Regions from separate parts of the Homo sapiens genome. Here regions 1 and 3 are each linked to region 2. Evidence: promoter capture Hi-C in 16 types of primary human blood cells and fetal thymus (Javierre and others, 2016). All regions are on one chromosome and are shown on one strand. Each heading gives the region's core, a stretch centred on a gene start or on the middle of the fragment in contact. The rest is flanking DNA. Distances are from core to core; before and after follow the strand shown.

The links. Contacts are between HindIII fragments. The CHiCAGO score rates a contact against its expected background, and 5 or more counts as called.
Region 1: a contact is called between a fragment that was not itself captured here and the fragment with the promoter of GLDC in region 2, in 1 of 17 cell types (endothelial precursors). The highest score is 5.2, in endothelial precursors.
Region 3: a fragment that was not itself captured here is called in contact with the fragment with the promoter of GLDC in region 2 in 1 of 17 cell types (M0 macrophages); the score reaches 5.2 in M0 macrophages.

What each region holds. Positions count from the first base shown.
Region 1 is chr9:6,369,784-6,373,134 of GRCh38, reverse strand. No RefSeq gene overlaps it. Among named protein-coding and RNA genes, the nearest start is that of UHRF2, 42 kb to the left of the region's middle. The HindIII fragment of the contact is 2,291 bases long and covers 776-3,066 here.
Region 2 is chr9:6,644,479-6,647,881 of GRCh38, reverse strand. GLDC (glycine decarboxylase) reads left to right here and starts at 2,153. Exons shown (of 25, transcript NM_000170.3): 1 at 2,153-2,637; 2 at 3,190-3,268. The coding sequence starts at 2,383. RefSeq lists enhancers at 1-159, 1,146-1,245, 1,296-1,405, 2,386-2,943 and silencers at 2,076-2,325, 2,396-2,595, 2,636-2,705. The HindIII fragment of the contact is 9,537 bases long and covers 1-3,403 here.
Region 3 is chr9:6,352,591-6,356,020 of GRCh38, reverse strand. No RefSeq gene overlaps it. Among named protein-coding and RNA genes, the nearest start is that of TPD52L3, 26 kb to the right of the region's middle. The HindIII fragment of the contact is 5,954 bases long and covers 1-3,430 here.

The DNA.
Region 1 (3,351 bases), core at 672-3,171, 270 kb after region 2:
TGTAGAAGAAACTTCCATCAAAGCCACTCCAAAAGGCCTATGTAGAAATAATTATTCTTGCCACACTTTATGCAAATAATCAGACCAAGTATAAGACTAAGGTCTGTTCTGAAAACCATTCAGTCCTATGATGATTTTTTAACAAAAATGAGGACTGGAGAGAGAGAAATCATGTTTCAAAACTTATCATACATTTATCATTAAATTCTAAACTCATTACTTGTTTTTAAACCCTGCTTGCCCCTGTGAACCAACCAGCAATCCCTGGCTGCAGCTCAAAAAGAACAAAAGGGATGGGTAATGTTAAAATCTGAATCAGTATTCTAGTTGAGCAATTATCCTGCAAATCCTGCAAGGTGATGGGAATAAATAGGATACCCAACACTCGGAGGTTTCCTTTTTGGGAAAGTAAGACCAAGGGAGCTAACCAAAGTGAAACACCATGCACCCAAATCTTAGCAAGCATAACTATAGCCACCAGTTATCTGGTTGTGTCACAAGACATTCTTTCCTGTCCGTTGTTGGAGGAGGACTTAGTTCCACAGTTTCATCTTAGCATAGTTCCACAGTTTCATCTTAGCATTTGGTTTATGACAAGGAGTCCATGCAACCCCCCGAGACATATTTTTGTCCCAAACTCAATTCCAAGCTTTGGGTCAAAGCCCTATGAAAGAAAACTGGATCTAATGGATCCAGAGCCAAATGACAACAGAGGTTAAAAGGCACAGCGCAGGTAAGCATGGCTGATTCCTGCCAATTAAGCCAAGCCCAAGCTTCCTGTTTCATGGATAAAGGCCACGTTAATATCCATGGCATAAATGAGATCTAGGGAACTCCAAGGCTACTGATAGTAGGGTGAATAGAGGCATACATGAGATTGGATAATTCCTATTCTCTAGGAACCCCCTGCTTCATGGGTGCAAGCTGCTTTGGCAATCATGGTGGGACCTGCCAAGGTCACCGGGATTCAGGGATGCAAGGATGGAAGAGGGAAAGAGGACGCTCTTCCTTCCCTCCCTCATGTACCTTGGGTATCTGCTAGGAGGAGAAGGAAACCAGGGATACCTGCTTCCCTCTTTCTAGATGGGTAGCCATTCATCTTCAGTCTGTACCTCTTTTGAATGCATCCTGAACCCTGAGACTCCTTTGAAAAAAAAAGCCTTCTTTTTTTCCTTTCTTCTCCTCTGTCCTCTTTTCACAGATAGGCAATTGTGCCTCCAGGACACTCACCTCAGATGTGTCCTCCAAACTGGAAAAAGTTAATTTCCCAAACCTTAAACTGGTTGGCTTAGGATTGGACTCAGGGGAAGAGAACCCAGAAGCCCAACATGCCAGCGAAAGGGTAAAGTTTCTCTGCCAGTCAGGCTTTTGGCCTCCCTCTCTCTGAAAGCTGGTAAAAGGCCACGGAATCCTTACCCCTCCCCTTATTTCATTTTATACATGTTTTCTAATAACCCAGTTTGTCTGTTCTTGCCTTCAGGCCATCAAACTCCAAGCAATCATGCAACCGGAGCCTCTGACGATGGCCCCTTCTGCTGGGAACCCTTAAATAGGCCTCTGAGGGAACTTTGATTGCTGTTTCCCAAAACAGTGCCCTCTGTCACAGGAAGCAGTTAAGATCAGTCTTTGTCCTTAATCTAACAGCAGTTAGATGTACTTCTTTAGAGAGGGTAATGAGACAGCCAGGTGGAGGGGTTCCCTGGAGAAACTCCAACTAACCTGTCCACTGGGTGGAGGCTTCAGACCTCATGCAAGTCTGAAATCCAATAGGGCAGTCATAAAACCTTAAAGTTCCAAAATGATCTCCTCTGACTCCATGTCTCACATCTAGGGCATGCTGATGCAAGAAGTGGGCTCTCACAGCCTTGGGTGGGTCCACTCCTGTAGCTTTGCAGGGCACAGCCCCCTTCCCAGCTGCTTCCACAAGCTGGTATTGAGTGTCGGTGGCTTTTCCAGGCACACAATGCAAGCTGTTGGTGGACCTACCATTCTGGGATCTGGAGGATGGTGGCCCTCTTCTGATAGCTCCACCAGGCAGTGCCCCACTGGGGACTCTGTGTGGGGGCTCTGACCCCACATTTCCCTTCTGTACTGCCCTGGCAGAGGTTGTCCACGAGGGCCCCACCCTTGCAGCAAACTTCTGCCTGGACATCCAGGTGTTTTCGTACATCCTCTGAAATCCAGGTGGAGGTTCCCAAACCTCAATTTTTGACTTCTGTGCAACTGCAGAGTCAACACCATGTTGAGGCTGCCAAGGCTTGGGGCTTGCACCCTCTGAAGCCATGGCCTGAGTGCTGTACCTTGGCCCCTTTTAGCTACAGCTAGAGCAGCTGGGACATAGGGCACCAAGTCTCTAGGCTGCACACAGCAGAGGCCCTGGGCCTAGCCCAGAAAACCATTTTTTTCTTCTAGGCTAGTGGGCCTCTGTTAAATTTATCCAATAGGGCTAGGTGCAGTGGCTCACACCTGTAATCCCAGCATTTTGGGAGGCTGAGGCAGTTGAATCACTTGAGCCCAGGAGTTCGAGACCCACCTGGGCAACATGGCAAAACCTCCTCTCTACAAAAAAAATACAAAAATTAGCTGAGAATGGTGGCGCCCACTTGTAGTCCCAGCTACTTGGGAGGCTGAGGTGGGAGGATCACTTGAGTCCAGGAGGCAGAGGATACAGTGAGCTGGGATCATGCCACTGGGGACCAGCCTATGACAGGGTGAGACCCTGTCTCAAAATAAAGAAAGAAAGAAATTTATCTGATAGGATTCTGAATTCCTTCTCTGTGTTATCTTGAATTTCACTGAATTTCTTTAACACAGCTATTTTGAATTCTCTCTCTGAAAGGTCACATATCTCTGTCTCTCCATAATTGGTCCCTGGTGACTTATTTAGTTCATTTGGTGAGGTCATGTTTTCCTACATGGTCTTGATTCTTGTGGATGTTTGTCAGTGTCTGGGCTTTAAGGAGTTAAGTATTCATTGTAGTCTTCACAGTCTGGGCTTGTTGTACCCACCCTTCTTGGGAAGACTTTCCAGGTGTTCAAAGGGACTTGGGTGTTGTGATTTAAGCTTTTGCCTATGGCAGCCATACCTGCATTAGGGGGCACCCCAAGCGCAGTATTGCTGTTGCTTTTGTAAGCTCATAGAAGTACCATATTGGTGGACTTGGATAAGATCCAGAAGAATTCTCTGGATTACCAGGCATAAGACTCTTGTTGTCTTCCCTTACTTTCTCCCACACAAACAGAGTCTCTTTCTGTGCTGAGCTGCCTAGAGCTAGGGGAGGGGTGACACAAGCACCATTGTGGCCCCCAGCATTCAGATTGTGCTGGGTTAGACCTGAAGCCAGCATAGCA
Region 2 (3,403 bases), core at 904-3,403:
TTTTTTTCATATTTGTAGTAGAGATTGAGTTTCGCCATCTTGGCCAAGCTGGTCTTGAACTCCTGTCCTCAAGTGACCTGCCCGCCTCGGCCTCCCAAAGTGCTGGGATTACAGGAGTGAGCCACCGCACCCGGCCCCAATTCTCATATACATATATGTGTGTATATATACATGTTTTTTTTTGGCAGAAGGCAAATAACATCCATCACCACGGAGCCAAAGGGATCTGGGAATTATTGTTCCCTGGCTTCCAGTCCCTCTGATACATAGAAACAACATAGACAGGAATAGGAATAAATGCAGATTACCTCCTCCCTCCAATCCTTCCCCACAACCCCCACCATCTGGCACTGAGGAGATCTCCCAACTTTTATGAAGGTTGTAATTTCAATTCCAAATGGCCGAAAAACTTTTCGGAGACATTCAGCCCAGCCGTCCTAGCTCACCACCCGCCTCCGTCTGCCATACAGACATTTTACCTACTGTTCTTTGTGGTGTATTTTCCTGCCCTCTTTTCCATCTCTACTTTCCTGCCTCTCTGGATAGTCTGTGCCTCCTGGGTACGGAGCCCAGAATCTGTTAAGGGTGATTGGAGGAGGAAACTTAGCAGATAAGCAAGAAAGAGAACAGGTTTTATTTTCCCCTAGTCTAAGTACAAGTAATGTTCTGATTACTTCTGTCCTCTCTTCCCCATATTAGAACAACTGGAATTTTAAAAGTTCATTCTCTTGCTAAAACTGTCATGAGACAGCTGGAGATGGTACATTTACAAAAAATCCAGTTCTAGATGGCTAACTTTCAAAGTAAGACGACAGTGAACAATGTCTATCTTAATATCCTTTGTACTTTTGCTGGGCGCAGTGGCTCACGCCTGTAATGACGGATCACGAGGTCAGGAGATCGAGACCATCCTGCCTAAAACGGTGAAACCCCGTCTCTACTAAAAATAAAAATAAAAAATGGCCGGCCGTGGTGGCACGTGCCTGTAGTCCCAGCTACTCAGGAGCCTGAGGCAGGACAATCGCTTGAACCCGGGAGGTGGAGGTTGCAGTGAGCCAAGATCGCGCCACTGCACTCCAGCCAGGGCGACAGAGCGAGATTCCGTCTCAAAAACAACAACAAAATATCCTTTGTAGTTTTACACACACACGTATATGTATATACAGTACATATATTTAAAAAAACATATACACACACACACACAGTTCTTTTTTTTTTTTTTTTCCTGAGTCTCGTTCTGTGGCCCACGCTGGAGTGCAGTGGTGCGATCACATCTCACTGCAGCCTGAAACTCCCTGACTCAAGCAATCCTCCCACCTCAGCCTCCAGAGTAGCTGGGACTTCAGAAGCACGCAACCACGCCCCACTAATTTTTGTATTTTTTGTAGAGACAGGGTTTCACAATGCTGCCCAAGCTGGTCTCGAACTCCTGGGCTCAAGCTATCCTACCGCGTCGGTTTCCGAAAGTGTTGCGATTACAGGCGTGAGCCATAGCGTTACATGTGGTGGGGGGGAAGAGAGAGAAAGAGAGAGAGTGAGAAGAAGGAGGAGGAGGAGGAGGAGGAGAAAGAAGGAAGAAAGAAAAGAAAAGAAATATAGAGAGGGTGTTCAAATCTACTGTTCAAGTGCTTTCCATGTACATATAATCTCTTTTTAAAATCCCATCCAGCTCTGTTGAGATGAGAAAACTGAAGCTCTGAGAGGTTGAGTAACTTTATCACGCTCCCGCAAAGATAAAAGAACCGCCATCTGCCCATATTAATTTCCCTGAGATGAAATGTGACAGAGAAAGATACCTCAAAATTAAGGAAATGGAGAGCTTCGAGAATCATCTTCCATCTCCGCCGAGTCCCCCAGGAACTTGGCCCGGAGTCTTTGGGCTGTCCCACCTGATCTTGCCCCAGTGCGGCTCCACACCCTGGCGGGCGGCGTACGGAGCGTCCCGGCCCCCGGCACCAGCCAGCGTCGGAGTGGGTAGGACTGGAGATGGCAGCCTCCGGTCCAGGGGAAGCGGGACTCCACGGAAGGGCTGGGAAGAGGGTAGGAAGAGGGGGCGGGGGCGGGAACTGTTCCGCCCCCTCCCCCTCTGTCTACTTTCATTGGCCAAGGGCTTCCTGGCCCCAACCCACCTCCCGCCTCCAGGGCGCCGCTTAAAGTGTGCGGAGCAGGTGCCTTGGGTGGAGCCACAACTTTGCGCGAGTGTCTTGGTTGAGCGCAGCGCCCATTCATTGCCCGCGAGCGTCCATCCATCTGTCCGGCCGACTGTCCAGCGAAAGGGGCTCCAGGCCGGGCGCAGCCGCCACCCGGGGGACCGAGGCCAGGAGAGGGGCCAAGAGCGCGGCTGACCCTTGCGGGCCGGGGCAGGGGACGGTGGCCGCGGCCATGCAGTCCTGTGCCAGGGCGTGGGGGCTGCGCCTGGGCCGCGGGGTCGGGGGCGGCCGCCGCCTGGCTGGGGGATCGGGGCCGTGCTGGGCGCCGCGGAGCCGGGACAGCAGCAGTGGCGGCGGGGACAGCGCCGCGGCTGGGGCCTCGCGCCTCCTGGAGCGCCTTCTGCCCAGACACGACGACTTCGCTCGGAGGCACATCGGCCCTGGGGACAAAGACCAGAGAGAGATGCTGCAGACCTTGGGGCTGGCGGTAAGGACCTCCACCCGGCCCTCCGCGGCCTCCCCTCCGCCCTGCCCGGGCTCTGCCTGCGCGGCCTCCCGGCTCCTACCCTGAGCTCTGCTGCGCTCCGCGTGGTCCCCGCACCCTGGGTCCCGGGCCGTGGCGTGGAAGCAAATTCGTGCCTTTGGTCCTCGTGCCTTCTTACTTCTTAACAGCTTACTTTCTCCTGCACCCAGTCTTCGTGCCTCAAAAGTGTACATTTTTAAACCACCCCCAGCCCAAGTGGCCCTGTGGATGGACCTAAACTTTGCAAGAGGAGGAAGACCCCCTGATTAAGAGTGGGCTTACCGGTTAGCTCCGGTTGCAACTGAAATCCAACCCCGAGTGGCGGAATCTCCACCCCACTTCACGATTTTCTTTCCTCCAAATCATTCTGGCTTGCTCAGAGTTTTCCTTTTCTTTTAAAAAGAACCCTAATTAGGCGATTTCAATGAGGTTCCCACAAGGCTTTGTAGTCGCAAAACACAGAGGTGACTCTTTTAACTCAGAGGCACTTTCCTCTGCCTTGCGTTTTAATTTTAGAGCATTGATGAATTGATCGAGAAGACGGTCCCTGCCAACATCCGTTTGAAAAGACCCTTGAAAATGGAAGACCCTGTTTGTAAGTGGCCGGGAGGGCTCCCTTGGACTTAGATTATTCTGGCCTATTTGTCTTTTGTGGTTCCCTGAAAATCGAGCTCTGGGGTAAGGATTGCTCAGGACTGGGAATGTGTGGATTAAAATAAAACAGTGGCGG
Region 3 (3,430 bases), core at 699-3,198, 290 kb after region 2:
ATGATTTGGTGGCCTAGCTTGCATATAAACAATGAGCTAGAGCTCACTTAGTAATGGCATCTTTTCAGGGTTAACTAGACTTTCAGCTTCACTGAGAAGACTGCATGAGTCATTTTCTCTCTGTTTCACGTGCTCTTTCACACAGTTATGCTAAAGCAGCTAAAATGCAGTTTAATAATTTGAATTTAGACAAACTTAACTCTCTGAACTTCAGTAAAGTGTATTTGTATCAGATATGCTTTAGTTTTCATGATCAAAAAGCCCAAAGAAGCTAAAATTAAACTTCCTTCCGACTTTTACTCATTCCTTTACATTTCTAAGCAAGTGAGACTCAAAATCATGGCTTTGATTCTATAGGAATCAGTGAATGTGCCAGCCAGAGGCCTCAGAATTCTTTAAAACCTGACCAGAAGGAAGGGAACGTATTTCTTGATCTCCAGAATGATCAAAAGGCAATATGAAAAGCTCTCAAGCAAAAAGGATACAAAATTATTCCTTGTCTTATGAATCTAACAGGTCCAAAAGATGTCAATACATCTTCCTCCCTCATTTGAGGGTTACACAAGCAGTCCCCATGTCAGAATGGCAGAATTCCAGCGGTTCGTTTGCAGAAGTAAGTTCTGTGGGACTCAGGATGCGTTCTCCATAGTAACCACATTATGTCTGCCTGGTGGTTAGCTAGGTTTAATCCATAATCCTCTGAAGTAGAGTTCCAGAATTACAGGACTTGACCACCTCATTTTTTTTTTTTTTTTTTTGAGATGGAGTCTTGCTCTGTCACCAAGGCTGGAGTGCAGTGGCACGATCTCGGCTCACTGCAACCTCCATCTCCTGGGTTCAAGCAATTCTTCTGCCTCAGCCTCCCCAGTAGCTGAGATTACAGGTGTGTACCACCATGCCTAGCTAATTTTTGTATTTTTAGAAGAGACGGGGTTTCACCATGTTGGCCAGGCTGGTCTTGAACTCCTGACCTTGTGATCCACCCGCCTCGGCCTCCCAAACTGCTGGGATTACAGGCTTGAGCCACTGCACCTGGCCCATGAAGAGTATTTTTATAGGAAGATGTGTGGGACCAGCTAAGGATGCCAGGCATGGGGGAATCTTCCTTTCCCCAACTTCCCTCATTTCTGAGCCTCTGTAGCCTAGGGCAGAAAATTCTCCCTAGAAGATGATTGGGAGGAAGGTAATGAGATGTGGAGCTGGAGGCCTTCAGAGTTTGGGAGTTGGAGGATGCCACCTCGTGAGAAGCTGTGAGTCTTTCTTGATCAGCTTGGGCAGCTCCTGGCTTACTTCCTTTCTTTTCATCTGCTGACCCTCAACATTGATCCTCTTGCTTCTCCCTTCACTGCCACAAACAACCTCTTCCTTGAGAGAAGCATTTTTCTCTTCTCATTTTAGATCAGAATAGAGTCCCCTCTACTTGCCTGGCTTGGAAGTAAATACATGGATTTAGTCCCATACTCTATGGAGTTAAAAAATTTCCCTGACCCTTTTCTTGTATTGCAAATTATTTCTACAGGTAAGGTTTAAGCCCTCATTAATGGCAAATATTTTTCAACTTAAGGAACTGGTGTAAAATTCATCCACATTTCAGGGGGAATCCTAGATTTAGGCTTTCATAAACATTTCTTCAAGAGTTGTGGCTGATGGAGGTATGGGGGTGAAGAACATCACAATGAAGTTTGTGTAGTGCAGAATAGTGTAAAATGACCATGTGAGTAGCACCCCCTTGTGTTGAAGAAGAGGTGTGAGTGTGGGAGGTTGCTGGAAGAAGGGGTGTATTACAGATATTCTTTTTATTCCTTTTCGCTAAATCCCTTCCTGCAGGGGCAGGAGCCCGGGATGCAGGGTTGGGCTGCTCAGAGACTGCTGAGTAAAGTAATTCAAGAGACAGTACCTCGGAGTAAAAACCACAACTAAGATGCCATCAAAAGGGACCATGGAGAGAGGTGAAATTCAAGTGGCAAAGGGATGGACAGTAGGGGAAGGTTGGCCCAAGCAAGAGATTTCCAGTGGAGTCTGAAGAGACTCCTTGAGCTGTCACCTGGAAGAGCACGCTAAGGATTTTCTTTTCTAAAACTCTGAAGTTCTAGAAGGGAAGGAAACTTTTTTTTTTCTTTTAGAGATGGGGTGTCACTCTGTCACCCAGGCTGGAATGCAGTGGTGCAATCATAACCCACTGAAGCCTCGAACTTGAACTGAGGCTCAAGCAATCCTCCCACCTCAGCCTCCCTGGTAGCTGGGACCACAGGCATGTGCCACCATACCCAGCTAATTTTTGTTTTTTATAGAGACAGGGTCTTGCTATGTTGCCCAGGCTGGTTTTCAGCTCCTGGGCTTAAGCGGTTGTTCTGCCTCAGCTTCCCAAAGCACTGGAATTATAGGCATGAGCCACTATGCTCAGGCAGAAGGAAACTTTTGAAGGAGCTGAGTAGACTTGCGTATCTTTCCTTAGATCACCATCAATCCTGCCTGGGCTAAGGTCAAAAGAGTGTCAGAACAGAATACTTTAAAGCATTCTGGAGGCAACACCTGAGCAGGTGAGGTGAGCAGAGGATTAAGAGCCAGGAGGCTGGCCGGGCGTGGTGGCTCACGCCTGTAATCCCAGCACTTTGGGAGGCCGAGGTGGATGGATCACGAGGTCAGGAGATCGAGACCATCCTGGCTAACAAGGTGAAACCCCGTCTCTACTAAAAATACAAAAAATTAGCCGGGCGTGGTGGCGGGCGCCTGTAGTCCTAGCTACTCGGGAGGCTGAGGTAAGATGGCGTGAACCCGGGAGGTGGAGGTTGCAGTGAGCCGAGACCGCCACTGCACTCCAGCCTGGGTGACAGAGCGAGACTCCATCTCAAAAAAAGAAAGAAAAAAAAAAAGAGCCACGAGGCTTAACAACCAGATCTATGGCAGAATTAGTCTTTGGCTTCCTTCATGCTCTTCAGTTTTTAGCGTCTTAAGATGCCTTCTTGGTTTGGATGAATTTGCCTTTCTGACTCCAGCTACCCTGATCTTTTGTTGAAGCTGTAATTTGTCATCATGCTTACCCCATTTCTAAGCATAAGCCAGGTCCCTCTTCTTGGCTCAGCCCTGCCTCCTTCCTGTCCCATGGAGTTTGGTCTGAGGAAGACTCAGTCAATTCCTGAGCTTTCTTTCTTCTTGTCATTTATTTATTGATCACTTGCTGTGTGTCGGATACTGCACTGAATGCTGGGGATTAGGGATTCAACATATAAATTTGGGGAGGGACGTAATTTATTCCATACAGATGTGAGGGAATTAGCTATATGGATATCCGAAGGAAGAACATTTATTTTAATCACATACAAAAATAATTAGAACCTCCATTGCCTTTCAGACAAGGCCCAGGTCGATTAGTTGGTTGGAGGGTCAGGTGTTATAAATATGCCATATAATGGATAAGGAGGGTGGTGGT